Regions from separate parts of the Homo sapiens genome. Here all the other regions are linked to region 1. The links are contacts of gene promoters, found by promoter capture Hi-C in blood cells and fetal thymus (Javierre and others, 2016). All regions are on one chromosome and are shown on one strand. Each heading gives the region's core, a stretch centred on a gene start or on the middle of the fragment in contact. The rest is flanking DNA. Distances are from core to core; before and after follow the strand shown. Region 1 holds the start of RAN (RAN, member RAS oncogene family). Region 2 holds the start of WSB2 (WD repeat and SOCS box containing 2). Region 3 holds the start of FBXO21 (F-box protein 21). Region 4 overlaps RBM19 (RNA binding motif protein 19).

What was found. The method cuts DNA at HindIII sites, captures the fragments that hold promoters and counts their contacts. A CHiCAGO score of 5 or more calls a contact.
Region 2: the fragment with the promoter of WSB2 here is called in contact with the fragment with the promoter of RAN in region 1 in 3 of 17 cell types (naive CD8 T cells, total CD4 T cells and activated CD4 T cells); the score reaches 5.6 in naive CD8 T cells.
Region 3: the fragment with the promoter of FBXO21 here is called in contact with the fragment with the promoter of RAN in region 1 in 5 of 17 cell types (naive CD8 T cells, total CD4 T cells, total CD8 T cells and 2 more); the score reaches 15.6 in naive CD8 T cells.
Region 4: a fragment that was not itself captured here is called in contact with the fragment with the promoter of RAN in region 1 in 1 of 17 cell types (neutrophils); the score reaches 11.4 in neutrophils.

Annotation. Positions count from the first base shown.
Region 1 is chr12:130,870,364-130,873,334 of GRCh38, forward strand. It overlaps RAN (RAN, member RAS oncogene family), which reads left to right and starts at 1,703. Exons shown (of 7, transcript NM_006325.5): 1 at 1,703-1,763; 2 at 2,221-2,266; 3 at 2,473-2,557; 4 at 2,640-2,765. The coding sequence starts at 2,231. RefSeq lists enhancers at 743-1,504, 928-1,007, 1,505-2,266 and silencers at 1,288-1,747, 1,818-1,957, 2,008-2,217. The HindIII fragment of the contact is 6,850 bases long and covers 636-2,971 here.
Region 2 is chr12:118,059,326-118,062,688 of GRCh38, forward strand. It overlaps WSB2 (WD repeat and SOCS box containing 2), which reads right to left and starts at 1,854. Exons shown (of 9, transcript NM_018639.5): 1 at 1,711-1,854. The coding sequence starts at 1,723. It overlaps LOC124903030 (a long non-coding RNA gene), which reads left to right and starts at 2,135. Exons shown (of 2, transcript XR_007063479.1): 1 at 2,135-2,355. RefSeq lists a silencer at 1,264-1,313. The HindIII fragment of the contact is 4,146 bases long and covers 658-3,363 here.
Region 3 is chr12:117,189,093-117,192,297 of GRCh38, forward strand. FBXO21 (F-box protein 21) reads right to left here and starts at 1,378. Exons shown (of 12, transcript NM_015002.3): 1 at 1,126-1,378; 2 at 135-270. The coding sequence starts at 1,364. RefSeq lists an enhancer at 505-594 and silencers at 1,065-1,114, 1,395-1,494, 1,535-1,594. The HindIII fragment of the contact is 6,345 bases long and covers 106-3,205 here.
Region 4 is chr12:113,950,356-113,953,378 of GRCh38, forward strand. It overlaps RBM19 (RNA binding motif protein 19), which reads right to left. Exons shown (of 24, transcript NM_016196.4): 8 at 2,157-2,235. Among named protein-coding and RNA genes, the nearest start is that of RBM19, 14 kb to the right of the region's middle. The HindIII fragment of the contact is 1,726 bases long and covers 840-2,565 here.

The DNA of each region.
Region 1 (2,971 bases), core at 453-2,952:
TCTGTCTCCCAGGCTGGAGTGCAATGGTGAGATCATTGCCCATTGCAGCCTGTAACTCCTGGGTTTAAGGGATCCTCCTACCTCGGACTCCCAAAGTGCTGGGATTACAGGTGGCCTAGACTTTATAAAGCTGTTATCACCTCTTTCTTCTTTTCTCAACACTATCCTTTTGACATCTATCTAACCCTGTTGAAACAGATGACCGTCATTCCTTTTAAATGTTATACAGTATTAAATGTTGTGCACATGCGTGAGGCATGAGTTTAACTCTGGGGCCTCTCCCTAGAAATGGAAATCCGGGGTCACAAGCAATGGGCATTCCCGTTTTACTGTTAGATTCTGCTCTCCCGCCAGCAGCGTCTGAGAGGTGCTTGGGGTTCCCCTGAGGGTTCTGGGGGAGCTCGGACTTGCGTTCCCAGCAGGCCGGTTGTCGCCTGCTTTGTGCCTAATTTGCGTCACTGGGGTTCCTAGCGGACTCGCCTGCAAGTGTGCTCAGGACTGCAGGGAGGACTCTTCGGTCACTGCGGCTCTCTCCCCATGGTGGACTCTTCTGAGGCGCTTGACTGCGCTGATTTGGGCCTTTATCTGTCTGCATGTCGGCAGGGGCGCCCAGGAAGTCGGGTCCCTCTAGCTCAAGCTTGTTTGGGCTCTTACAGCTTCAGGCCAACAGGGGGCTGGGAAGCTGAGCACTTACTCATTCCGTCCCCGTTGGTAACTAGGGCTGGTAGACGCGTCCAGACTGCAAACAGTATTTCATCATTTTGTCTGTAGCATGCAGCGGCCAAAGCTGCCAACCTATGAAACGCTTTGAGAAGCCGGACGCTTTGGGAGGCCGAGGCGGGTGGATCCCCTGAGGCCAGCCTGGGAGACATAGTTAGATTCTGTCTCTCAAAAAAATTTTTAAAAAATTACCCCTGATGTGGTGCGCGCCTGTAGTCCCAGCTACTCGGGAGGCTGAGGCGGGAGGATCGCCCGAGCCTGAGAGTTCGAGACCAGCCTGGGCAACGTAGCGAGACTCCGTCTCTTAAAAAAAATAAGTAGCCGTTTTTCTGGGTGGGTGCATCCCTCTCTGGTTCCTCGCTCTCCAACTGGCCCTGGTCCTGGGGGCGTGAAGGCTACGATCTGGAGAGACAGAACAGCGGGCTGCCTCTGGAGGACGGGCCTAGACCCCATTCATTCATTCATTCGTTCTGTCACCCACCCGTCCTGCGCGCACGCGAGCCACCCTAAGCCCCAGGACCTCAAGAACCCCCACCCCACGGGGCACAGACAAGGACAGGCTGGCCAGCGCCTGGAAGCCGCGTGCCTGACCACGTCTGCCCGAGCGAGTACCGCCTCCCACCCGGGAGGCAGGAGAGCCGCGACCGTCGGGCCGCGCCCAACGTCTCCCGCTCAGGGGCGCGCCGCCTCGCTTTCAGCGCATGCGCGCCCGGGAGCCCGCCCGGGGCGTCGGCGCACGCGGTCCCCACCGGCCGGCTTGCGTACGCGCTCCCGGCTCGCCCTCCCACGCGGTCCACCGCGCCTCCCGCCCCACCCTAAGCGCAGCGACCGCCCGAGCGGCCGACCGAACCGCGTTGCGTGCGTGCGCGCACGCGCGGGCCACGTGGGCGGGCGCCGCGCCGTTGCCCCGCCCCTTGCAACCCCGCCCCGCGCCGGCCCCGCCCCTGCTCTCGCGCCGGCGTCGGCTGCGTCTCCGGCGTTTGAATTGCGCTTCCGCCATCTTTCCAGCCTCAGTCGGACGGGCGCGGAGACGCTTCTGGAAGGTATCGCGACCCGGCGGGCCCGGCACGGCCGGGCGGGGACAGGGGTGGCGGCGGCGGGATAGGGGTCGGAGCCGGGGCCAGGGCCGGGGCGGGTGGCGGACCCAGGGGCAGCGGGCGGCTGAGTAGGTGGGTGGTGCGGGCCCGGCCGGGCCGGGGCAGGAGACGGGCGTGGGGTCGGCGCTAGCCCCCGCGAACCCCCGTTTCATCCTCCGCTCTCATCCCCGTCCCGGTCCCAGTCCCGTTCCCATCCCTACACCTCCGGCCGCCGTTCCCCGGGCCCCGCCGCCCCGGATGCCGGCCCCGCCCGCCGCCTTCCCGCTCCCAGGCCTGGCCGCCATGGCGCCGCGGGCGGGAGGCCTTTGTGGGGCGGGCACGTGGGGCGCTGGGGGCGCGGGAGCGGGGCCGCCATGGGCTGCGGGGCCGCGCGAGCGCTCGCCTCCGTCCTCTGCCTCCGCAGGAACGCCGCGATGGCTGCGCAGGGAGAGCCCCAGGTCCAGTTCAAAGTAGGTAACCCTGCGGGGCGGGAGGCGGCCGAGCCCGACCGCGTGCGACTCGCGGGTCCCTCCTCCTGGGGCCACGATGGCTGTAATGGGGCCCCGCATCCACATTCTTTGTTTTAAGTGAGCCTGTGGTGGTTAAAGTTCCGTGACTCTGGGATCTTGAGAGGTGAAGTGTTTAGGGTTTACTTCCAAAATGTGTTTTTCAACAGCTTGTATTGGTTGGTGATGGTGGTACTGGAAAAACGACCTTCGTGAAACGTCATTTGACTGGTGAATTTGAGAAGAAGTATGTAGGTATGTGCTGGAAAACCTTGCTTGTGGAAATATGTGAGAAATGGGTAAGTTCATCCACTCAATCGCATCGTTTCCGTTTCAGCCACCTTGGGTGTTGAGGTTCATCCCCTAGTGTTCCACACCAACAGAGGACCTATTAAGTTCAATGTATGGGACACAGCCGGCCAGGAGAAATTCGGTGGACTGAGAGATGGCTATTATATCCAAGGTAGGCATTTGTAACTTGCTGAACGGTTTTTGAGAGGTTTTGTGTACTTCAGTCTTCAAGGTTATAGAAAATCAGGTCTGTTCCAACAAATAGTGTCATTTTTGGGTTAAAAAAAGACAAGTGGACTTCGGGGAGTTGACCACCATTTTGGTGGCAGAGAAAATTTTATTAAAGTTGTGTCATTTGCATGCTGTGTCATGCTAGGC
Region 2 (3,363 bases), core at 604-3,103, about 13 Mb before region 1:
GTGGCTACTTGAACATTTTAAATTACATACGTGGCTCACATTAGACTTCTGTTGGTCGGGGCTGGCCTAGAGGGTGCCTGGCACATAGTAGACGTTCAACAAATATTTGCTGAATGAATAAGTGAAGTCTAACCATTGCTCTGAAGATTTCAACTGTTGCCCATTGTATTTCCTTTACAATGGGCTTTATTCCATTTGAAAATAAGTTAAAACTCTGGCCTTTTTTGTACAGTAACTTGGCAGCTCTCAACAACCCTGCCCACACCCTCAAAACGAAGTTGTCAATCTTTAGGAAAACCCCAGAACTGGAAACAGATTTCTGTTAAAAAGGCAGGCTAGCTACAGATTGCTTTCAGATTGAACTGTAAGGAGGCAATGGAAATCAAACGGAAGCTATAAAAAGATTCACATAGGATCTACACAAACAGTAGGGGCCCTTTTAAAAAGAATTCTACGGGTAACACTCACTGAAAAGAAAGCCCTTATCTAGATGGGAAGGAGAGAGAGCTGCCTTTAACTCAATGCCTGACTTCAGCAAACAAAGAAATGTCATTTCCTAAATTAAAAAGTAACACCACCCCAGGGAATACCCAGATTTCAACCTTCCCACCCACAGTAACAAGCCATCAGCAATCAGAACCCTCCAGACCAGGATGAAGCTTGAACTTGGCTGCAAGATTACCATGAAGTTCTGGAACAAATTCTGAGCCCTAGGCCTTGAACCTGCTCTGAAAATTTCTCCTAAGGAAATTACATTTAAACTCGGGTCCTTCAAGACCTGGGACTCCCGGAATCAATTCTAAATCTATCCCAAGTGGGGTTCCGAGGGAAGGTCGTTGGAGGGGAGAGGGCCAAGGCGTGCATGCGTCTTGGGGTTTTTTTCCCCTTGCATAAGAGACACACCTTTCCCACTGAGATTTTATGTTCATCTGGGCTGGCTTGAGGTATATCCAATATCCTCTGACTTCCACGCTGTCTTCTGATGGGGATGGCAGTTAACAAGAATAGAGGCAAGGTCCCCACCCATCAGTGTATCCTAAATTTGCCTGATCATACATGTCACCAGGGATCAGCGTCTCCAGTCCCGCCCCACCTCCACTGACTTAATCTCCAGTGGGAGAGGCTGGGAATAGATTGTTTCAATAGGGAACCCAGACCCCAGACCCCATTTTTACCGGGTCCCAGCCACCCTCCGAGGAAGGTACTAGGATTATCCCATTTTGCAGATCAAAACTGAGACGTGGGTGGCGGTGGTTCAGTGGCTTGTCCACTGTCACGATCACACAGCTTGTGAGGGACAGAGGTGACTCCCATCCAGACATGCAAGTGCGTCCCCTGGCACCTGGGTACCCAGGGGCACCCACCCCCTTGGGGATCTCCGTTTTAGGGCTTGGTGCCCCCCGCCCCGAGTCCCACCCGGGAGCCCCCTCTGTCCCGGTCGGGGGATCTCCTCCCGCAGAAGCCCGATCTTCCCGATCCTGTCGCCGGCGGGAGTCAGGGTGGCGGCCACTGACAACGAAAGTGAAACAAAGCTGGTCGCCGGGCGCGCACCCCCGCCGGCCCCGCGCGGACCTCCCAGGCCGGACGCCCCCGCCGCGTCCAGCCCCCGCCCCACCCCGCCCAGCCCGCCCCGGGGTCGCCTCCCCCCTCCCCGGGGAGAACGGGCCAGGGCCCCGCCGGGCGGGAACGGGCGCGCCCGGCCCCACTCACCTCCGGCCTCCATGGAGGACGCGAGCGGCCCCCGCGGCAGGCGGCGGGCGCCTCAGCCCCCCGGGCCGCGGGCCCTCATGCCGCCCCCGCGCCGCCCGCCCCGGCCAGGCCGCCGCCGCCGCCCGGAGAGGCCATCAGCTGCTTCCCGTCACATGGCGGTGGGCGCGGGCGGAGACGCGCGGGGGCGGGGCGCAGGGGAAACGGAGGGGGGGTGCGGACGGGATAAAAACGGTGGGGGGCAGCTGAGGGAAAAGATGGAAAATCGGGGAGGCGGTACGCTGACGGGATAAAAGCTGAGGGGTTGCTCAGGGGAAACGGGGGCGGGGAAGACGCGCGAACCAGATAAAAATGGGGCAGGGGTGGGGGGAGCTGAGCGGAAACGGGGTGGGGCGCGAACGGGATAAAACCCAGGGGTTGTGCGGGGTCCTGAGGGGAACCAGCGCCGGATAAAAACGGGGAAGGGAGGGAGGTGAACAGAGCTGAGGGAAACCGGGAAAAGGGGAGCGATAGAAACCGGAGTAGGGGAAGCCGGGCTCAGGGGAAAAGGGGGTGTTGGAGAGTGGTAGAGCCGGGCTGAGAGAAAAACCAAGCAGGGGAAGCGGCGATCCGGGGAGAACGGAGAGAGGGAGACCGAGGGCTGTGGGGGTAAGGGGAACCAAAGGGGCTGAAGCGAAATCGAGGGGAGGGGCAGGTGAAAATGGAGCCATGCGAAGGCCGATGAGGGGGGAAACGGGTAAAAATGGGGGCGGGAGAAATAGGTTGGAGGGAATACTGGCCGAGAAGAAACCTGGGGAGAGCTGGGCTTAGGGGAAAATGGGGAGGGGGTGGAAGGAAGGTGTAATAACCGGGTGCTGGGGAGGACGTAAGAATTGGGGGGTGCGGCGAGGGTCAAGGCTAGGGTAAAACAAGGGGGGCTACTCAATGGCTCCGGTAATGGGAGAGGGAAGTGAGGAGAACACGGGGCGGTGGGGAGAGGAGGGCAGGGTGAAAACCGGAGTGGGGGTGGGAACGAGATAAAAAACGGGGCAGGAGCGATTCGGAAGAAGACTGTCCCCTTACCTACCTACGGCGACAGCCTCGCCTGTCCCCGTCCCCCTGAGAAACCTGCTCTCCCTGTCTACCCGCATAGCCTCAAGAAATGGCTCGCTTGGGTCAGACGCCCCCTTTTTAACATTCCAGGGCCAGGGCAGGAGTCATCATGGAGGCTTTTCATGCCTGAAAGACCCCATTTCTTAGTTGTCCGGTCCCCAGTAGTATCAGTGGCTTGGGGATTTCTTACTGAGCTCAGCTCATTGTCCCCAAAATGCCTCCCCTTACCCCCAACTCGAGCGCTTCCCTTTCCTGCTTTGGGCCCAAGCTCTTCCCGCGGTTCTTGGTGTCAGCTTCATTCAAGTCACTCTCCCGCCTCTCATTCCTTTCTCCCCGCCTTTCTTCGCTTCCCTCCAAGTGCCCTCTCCATTTGCCGGTCACTGGTCCCAGAGCTCCGGATCGCAGTGGTTCCATTTTAAATTTCTTTGCTTCCTAACGCAACCTATGTTTTCTACGGTAACTGAGGTTCCCGTGTTCTTTTTCACCATGGTCTCTCCGTTTTAATGTTTCGGGTTTTTTTACCCAGGCCCCTGTTTTATGAGCCCTGGGTACGTCCTTCCTGTG
Region 3 (3,205 bases), core at 128-2,627, about 14 Mb before region 1:
GCCATCTAAGTGAGTAAGGGATTGTGAGAGCATTGAAAAGGGAGATACGAAAAGAGCTGGATGAGCTCATGCCTGCAGACCCAGACACATACACCAGCAAGCCAAAGCTTAGAGCCACATCAACAGATCCTTACGTGCTCTGAAAAGAACCTCTTTGAGAACGAGGCTACAATCTTCCGCGCTTCTAACCCAGCTTTTTGCCGAACTTTATACTCTTCCAACCAATTGACGTAGTCGGTGGGGCTGTAGTGTTTCATAAGGGAAGGCCACCTACGAGGAGAGAAACACCCCCTCAGCTTAACAGAAACTCAAAGGCAGGCGGCCACGAATCCAAGGCAGCCTTGGAAACAGGGACAGCAGTGGCGTCCAGTGGTAAGAGGGACCCCGGCGAGAGACCTAGTTCAAAACCCCACCAGCATTCACTCACTCACTCCCGGTGTGACCTTGGCGTAGCGGCATGAATGATGTCTCCATTCCCCATCTCTAAAATGGGGACAGTTGTAACAACAACAACAATAATAATAATGACAATGACAGTGAGCACTGATTGAGCGCCTCCTAGGAGCCGGGGCCCTGCGTGCGTGCCTCCCGGACATCATCTAATTTAATAAACACGGTGAAAGGTAGGTCTAATGATCACCACCACTCAAAGTCTATGAACGAGGCTCAAAAAAAGGGAAGTCGCTCCCCCCAAGGTCACAGAGGGAGTGTGCAGGGCCAGATTTCATCCTGGGGCCACGCTGAAATCTGTGCCGTCCACAACCAGCCCGGGGATGCTGCGCCCGCCCGATCGATGCATCACTGGGTCCATGTAAACATTTCAGCCCGAAGTCGGGCACAAAAGAAGCGCGCAAAAGGGACGAGCCGCGCCGCCGCCAGCGTCACCCTTGACGGAGGACCCGGCTGCGAGGCGCTCCTAGATGCGCCATTTGGGGACCCGGGGGTCCGCCTGGCGTGGCCCCGCAGGGTCCGGGGCCTGGAGGCCTTTGTCTGTCTGTCCGCGGGAAGGGGTCCGGGGTGGGGTCCGCGCGCGGGGCGGCCGCGGGGAGCTAGCGGGGCGGCTGCCCGGCCCCGGGGGGCGCGGGGCGGTGGGCGCGCAGCCGGGGCGCGGGGCCGCTGGCTCACCTCACCCGGAACTGCTCCTTCCACACCTTCCCGCTGCTCTGGCACAGCTCGCGCAGCCGCCGGCAGGTGCTGGAGACACGGCCGATGTCGGCGGCCGTCAGCGAGCCGCAGCACAGGATGTACTCCAGCACCTCACCCGGCAGGTTGACGAGGCAGCTGAGGCCCGCTACCTCCGGCGCGGCCTCCTCCGCCAGCGCCGGCACCACCTCCATCGCGCTGTCGACTGCTGCCGCCGCCATCTTGTCCGCGTACCTGGGGCCGCCGCGCGCGCGCGTGCGAGAGTGCCCGGGCGCCCCGCCTGGCCCCGCCTACTGGTCTTGGGGGCGAGTCCTGAGATCGCTCCGCCCATCCGCGGGCCACACCTCCCCTGCATCGGCTGGGGGCTGCGCGGGTGGCAGCGCCGCAAAAGGGAGGACATAATTGGGCTCTGTGCTTGGAGCCGGCAGCGCAAGCCGCCTCTAGTCCGGGACAACAATAGTAGCACTGATTCTTTTAAACGTAATTAATGTTTAAAATTAACAAATAAAAATGGTATCTATTCTCACGCGTGCTGAGCGCTTTCTGTGCGCATTGGACCTTTCCGAATTACCCTGCGAACTTTCTCCCCATATTACAGATGGGGAAACAGGTTCGGAGAGTGAGAGGGCTTGCTCAGGATCCCTTGTCTTGGATTTTTTTTCCCCCTTTGGGAAGGAGTCTTGCTCTCACCCAGGCTGGAGGGCAGTGGCGCTATCTCGGCTCACTGCAACCTCTGCCTCCTGGGTTCAAGCGATTCTCCTGCCTCAGCCTCCCGTGCGGATGGGATTACAGGCGCGCGCCACCACCCAGGTTGGAGTGCAGTGGCCGTGATCTCGGCTCACTGCAACTTCCACCTCCCTGGTTCAAGCAATTATCCTGCGTCAGCCTCCCGAGTAGCTGGGATTACAGGCGCCCGCCACCACAGCCAGCTAATTTTTGTATTTTTAGTAGAGACAGGGTTTCACCATGTTGGTCAGGCTGGTCTCGAACTCCTGACCTCAAATGATCCACCCACCTCGGCCTCCCAAAGTGCTGGGATTACAGGCGTGAGCCACCGCGCCCAGCCCCTTGTCTTGGATTCTATTTCAGATCCACTTGACTTTTGCTTGTCAGTAATCTTAACCATATGATGTAATAATAACAATATTCTTGAGTGGGTGCTATGGGAAGCCCTCTATGATGGTGTAGGGGAGTAATAATAATCCTCAAATGTGTGCCCTGATTTTAGGCTAATAGAGGGCAGGCAGAGAGCTCTCCTGTACTGGTTTCTTAATTGTTTCCAGCTCAACAATCCTTCATATTTGGGGAGCATAGTCTGACCTCCCACAATAGGTACCACAGTTATACCTATTCTACAGAAAAGGCAAAGTTCTTCCAGGTGGCAGTCACTGGTTCAAAGTTACAGAGACAAAAGTGCTAAAGCCTGGATTTGAGTCTTCAAAGCGGGAGTTATCACTCAGGATTGGGAGGGTAGTCTCAGGATCTGCACATTAAAAAAAAAAAATCAGTTTAGTTCAGTGCCAAAGCCCTGTGTTGTGTGCCCTGGGGATACAGGGGTGAGAAAAATGGAGTCTTTGCTTCAAAACCTCAAAGTGCAATTACAGTTAGAAGGATCTGTTGTCAGTACATGGAGGGTCCAATGAAGTACTCCTGGCAACTTGGAAATCAAGATGCCCTGAGAGAGCTGAACTAGTAAAGTGACTCTCAATGGATGGCGTTGAGCCATCTGTGGCTCCCTATTTCCCGTAGAAATGAATGTGACATCCCAAACATTGTTGCAAAGCAACAAACTCCACCTCTTCTTACCTATCTGAAGTCTTTCTCTCTCACTAGCCATGCATACCCCAGCAAGGCTGGTCATCTCTTTCCTCCCATTTCTGGCCCTACATATACTATTCCTGCTGCCTGCAAGGCACTTCATGCAGTCCTCCCCTTCCAGTAGCTCCTCCTCTTCCTCCAGGGCTCAGCTTAACCTTTCCAAATGCTCTCCCTTCCCCCGCCCCAGCACCAGCACCAGATATGGCTCCTGCCCAGCATTTTGCAGTCTTGTAATTACTTAACT
Region 4 (3,023 bases), core at 453-2,952, about 17 Mb before region 1:
CCCAGCCCGGTGTCATGGATGAAGATGCTGAATGCCAGGAGTTGGAAGCCCAGGAGGCCTTTCTGTCTCCCTCCAAGCCTCACCCCCATCCCCCGACTGGCACCTGCTCTAAGCCATTCTCTGGAGAAGGGCCTGTGGCTACAGCATGAGGACCCACCTAGGCGCTGGAAGCACCTTCTCCACACCCACTCTGCTCCTGGGCACCTGAGGCCTTGACTTGCACAAAAAAACAAGCAAATGGGGGAGTCTTTCCTCTAGCATGAGAGGCTCTGCTTCCTGACCTCTTTGGGCCTCAAACCTGTGAGGCAACAAGGTGAGGGGTGAGGACCATTCCCCTGCTTTTCTGGAGCATTAAAGAAATACTCCGAGGGGCACTCGGCTAATAGCTGGCAATGTCTAATACTTGGTCCAAAGCCCTTGGGTTTTCTGCCTTTAATCACAAGGCTGTTTAGATTCTTTCTGTGACTCCTCCATGCCCTCCTTTCCTATATCCAGGCACCTCATCCATCCCCATAAACATCTTCCGTCCTTTTCCCTCCCCCTCTCCATGGCCACACCCTAGGCCCCATCACCACTGATCCTCCCTTAGACGATGGCAAACGCCTGGCTCCAGGACCCATTCTTCACCTGCCAGGGACCATCCTAAATGTGATCACTGCCCTCCCCTGCTCTAAGCTCCCAGGGGCCCCTGCATCCAGACTGAAGCCCACAATCTTTTTCTTTTTGAGATTGGGTCTTGCTATGTTGTCCAGGCTGGATTTGAACTCCTAGGCTCAAGTAATCCTCCTACTTCAGCCTCCTGAGTAGCTGAGACACACAATCTTTAATGAGGCCCCTAAAGCTTAAGGGGCCCAGCCTGCCTCCTCCCCAGCTCTCCTGCAGGGGACATTCAGCTGCTTTTCAACATTTCATGCTTGGATGCCGGCTCTCTCCAACTCTGGGGCCTCCAATATGGTTTTCTCTTGGGTCTGACAACTCAGATATGTTTCTTCCTGCTCCCTCCCTGGTCTGTGAAGTGCCATAAAACCAAGGGTACCAGCACCATCACCACCACCATCATGAATATTAACAGCAGCTTTCATGGAGTGTGCAACAGGGGCTCAGCACTGCTCTAAATGCTGTACACAGAGCCATTCATGCAACTTGGTGAGACAGGTTTACCTGACTGCACACACACACACAAACACACACACACTCACACACACAAACAAACTGAGGCTAAGTCCCTTGTCCAAGGTCATAGGGCTCCTACCTGAGATCTGCACTTAGGCAGAGCCCTTTACCCTGACCTCATCCTGCCCTGTAATCAGTCTGCAAGGAGAAGGATGGGTGGCTGAATGGATCAGCTGGGTAAGTGGGACTTCCGTGATAAGAGGAGAGTTGGGGAAGAAATGCAGAAACATGACAGTGAGGAGACCATCCCTCAAGCACACTTTCTTCCCCAGATGTCAGCCTAGGTAGATCTCAACTGCTCTACCCAGGCCAGTGTCTTCTTGCCAAAGACAGAGTACACATCCAGCGGCTTCCAGCCTCCAGCCTCCCCGCAGCTACAGGGCCTCAGTGTGGTTCTCTTGAGAAGTAGCAAGTCAGCTGCTGAATCTCCCAGTGTCCTGGCCAGCAAGAAGTAGGCACGGACAGGTGCCCACCTCCCCGAGCTCAGACACTCTGCCTTCCAGCCACACTGCTCATCTCAGGATGACCAGAACCCAGGGCTCTGAAGCCAAGGGAGGTGCCTGGTTGGTTGCCCAGAGTATAAACCTGCAGGGAGGGTGGCACGGGGCAACACCACACATGCTCAGCAACTCAGAGCCCTGCCCACCAGCAGAGCTGCCTGTGGACTTGGCCTAGCAAACCCCAGGACCTGTTGGCATTTGTTTCAGCGTAATAGGTGAGCCCACTGAGATAGGCAAAGGCTAAGATGAGGAAGGGAAGGATGAAAAGCACAGGTGAGAACTCCATCCCTATACACTAGGCCACCAAAGGCTGGGGCAAGAGATGCAGCCTTAACCTGCCCAGGCTGACCACATCCACACAACTGAGGACCACAAACAGGAAGAAAAACGGGTGCCCTTAAAACTTCTTCCTTATTCAAGTACCCCAACCTTCAATCTTCACTGTCTACCCGCCTTCCCACCTGGAAACATCCTGGATCTTACCTGTTTTATTCCCATGAGCGTTTCTCACAATTCGAATGGCCACTGGTTTCAGGGGTGCCAGGAATTCCATAACATTTTTCTGTGAGAAGAAGTTTTTTTCCCCTTACCAACCACATAATAAAAGTACAACCCAACGAAAAGACATGGGGCAAATTTCTAAATCAGAAAGGATTACAAAGTGTTTCATTCTTTAGTTTTTCTCTTTCCTTATACGTATCGCTTCTCCAATTACCTTGGAGAAAATGTGAAAAAGAAAATTGGAGGAGAAATGAGTAATATAAATATAAAATAGCAGTGTCACTATCAGCGTTAAAATAGCGATGTCACGATCCGCATTTCAAGGCACTGTTTCCCCCCTAGATAATTGTATATACTTGGGATTAAACCTGGCTTTTTTCACTTCTCATTAAGCTTGAGTATTTGGTTTTTGTGTATTAGTTTTGCAAGTAGCCACCTAGTGGTTTTGGTTTTGTTAATTAAAGCATGTGATTTTCTGAATGGTTGATACTGAAAGAATTCTGACAAAATTACAAGCAACTCAGTGAGTTTAATAAAACCTACATGCTTGCTACTCTGAAGTTTGATAAGTTGTAATTCAGATATTTATAAACATAGAGTACCAGAACAGATAAAGACTTCAAGAGAAAAAAGGGCAAAAGACATGATCGGGCACTTTCCAAAAGAGAAGATATATTGGCCAGGTGCGGTGGCTCACGCCTGTAATCCCAGCACTTTGGGAGTCCAAGGCGGGTGATCACCCGAGGTCAGGAGTTCGAGACCAGCCTGGCCAACATGGTGAAACGCTGTCTCTACTAAAAATACAAAAATTAGCTGGACATGGTGACAGGTGCCTGTAATCCCAGCTAC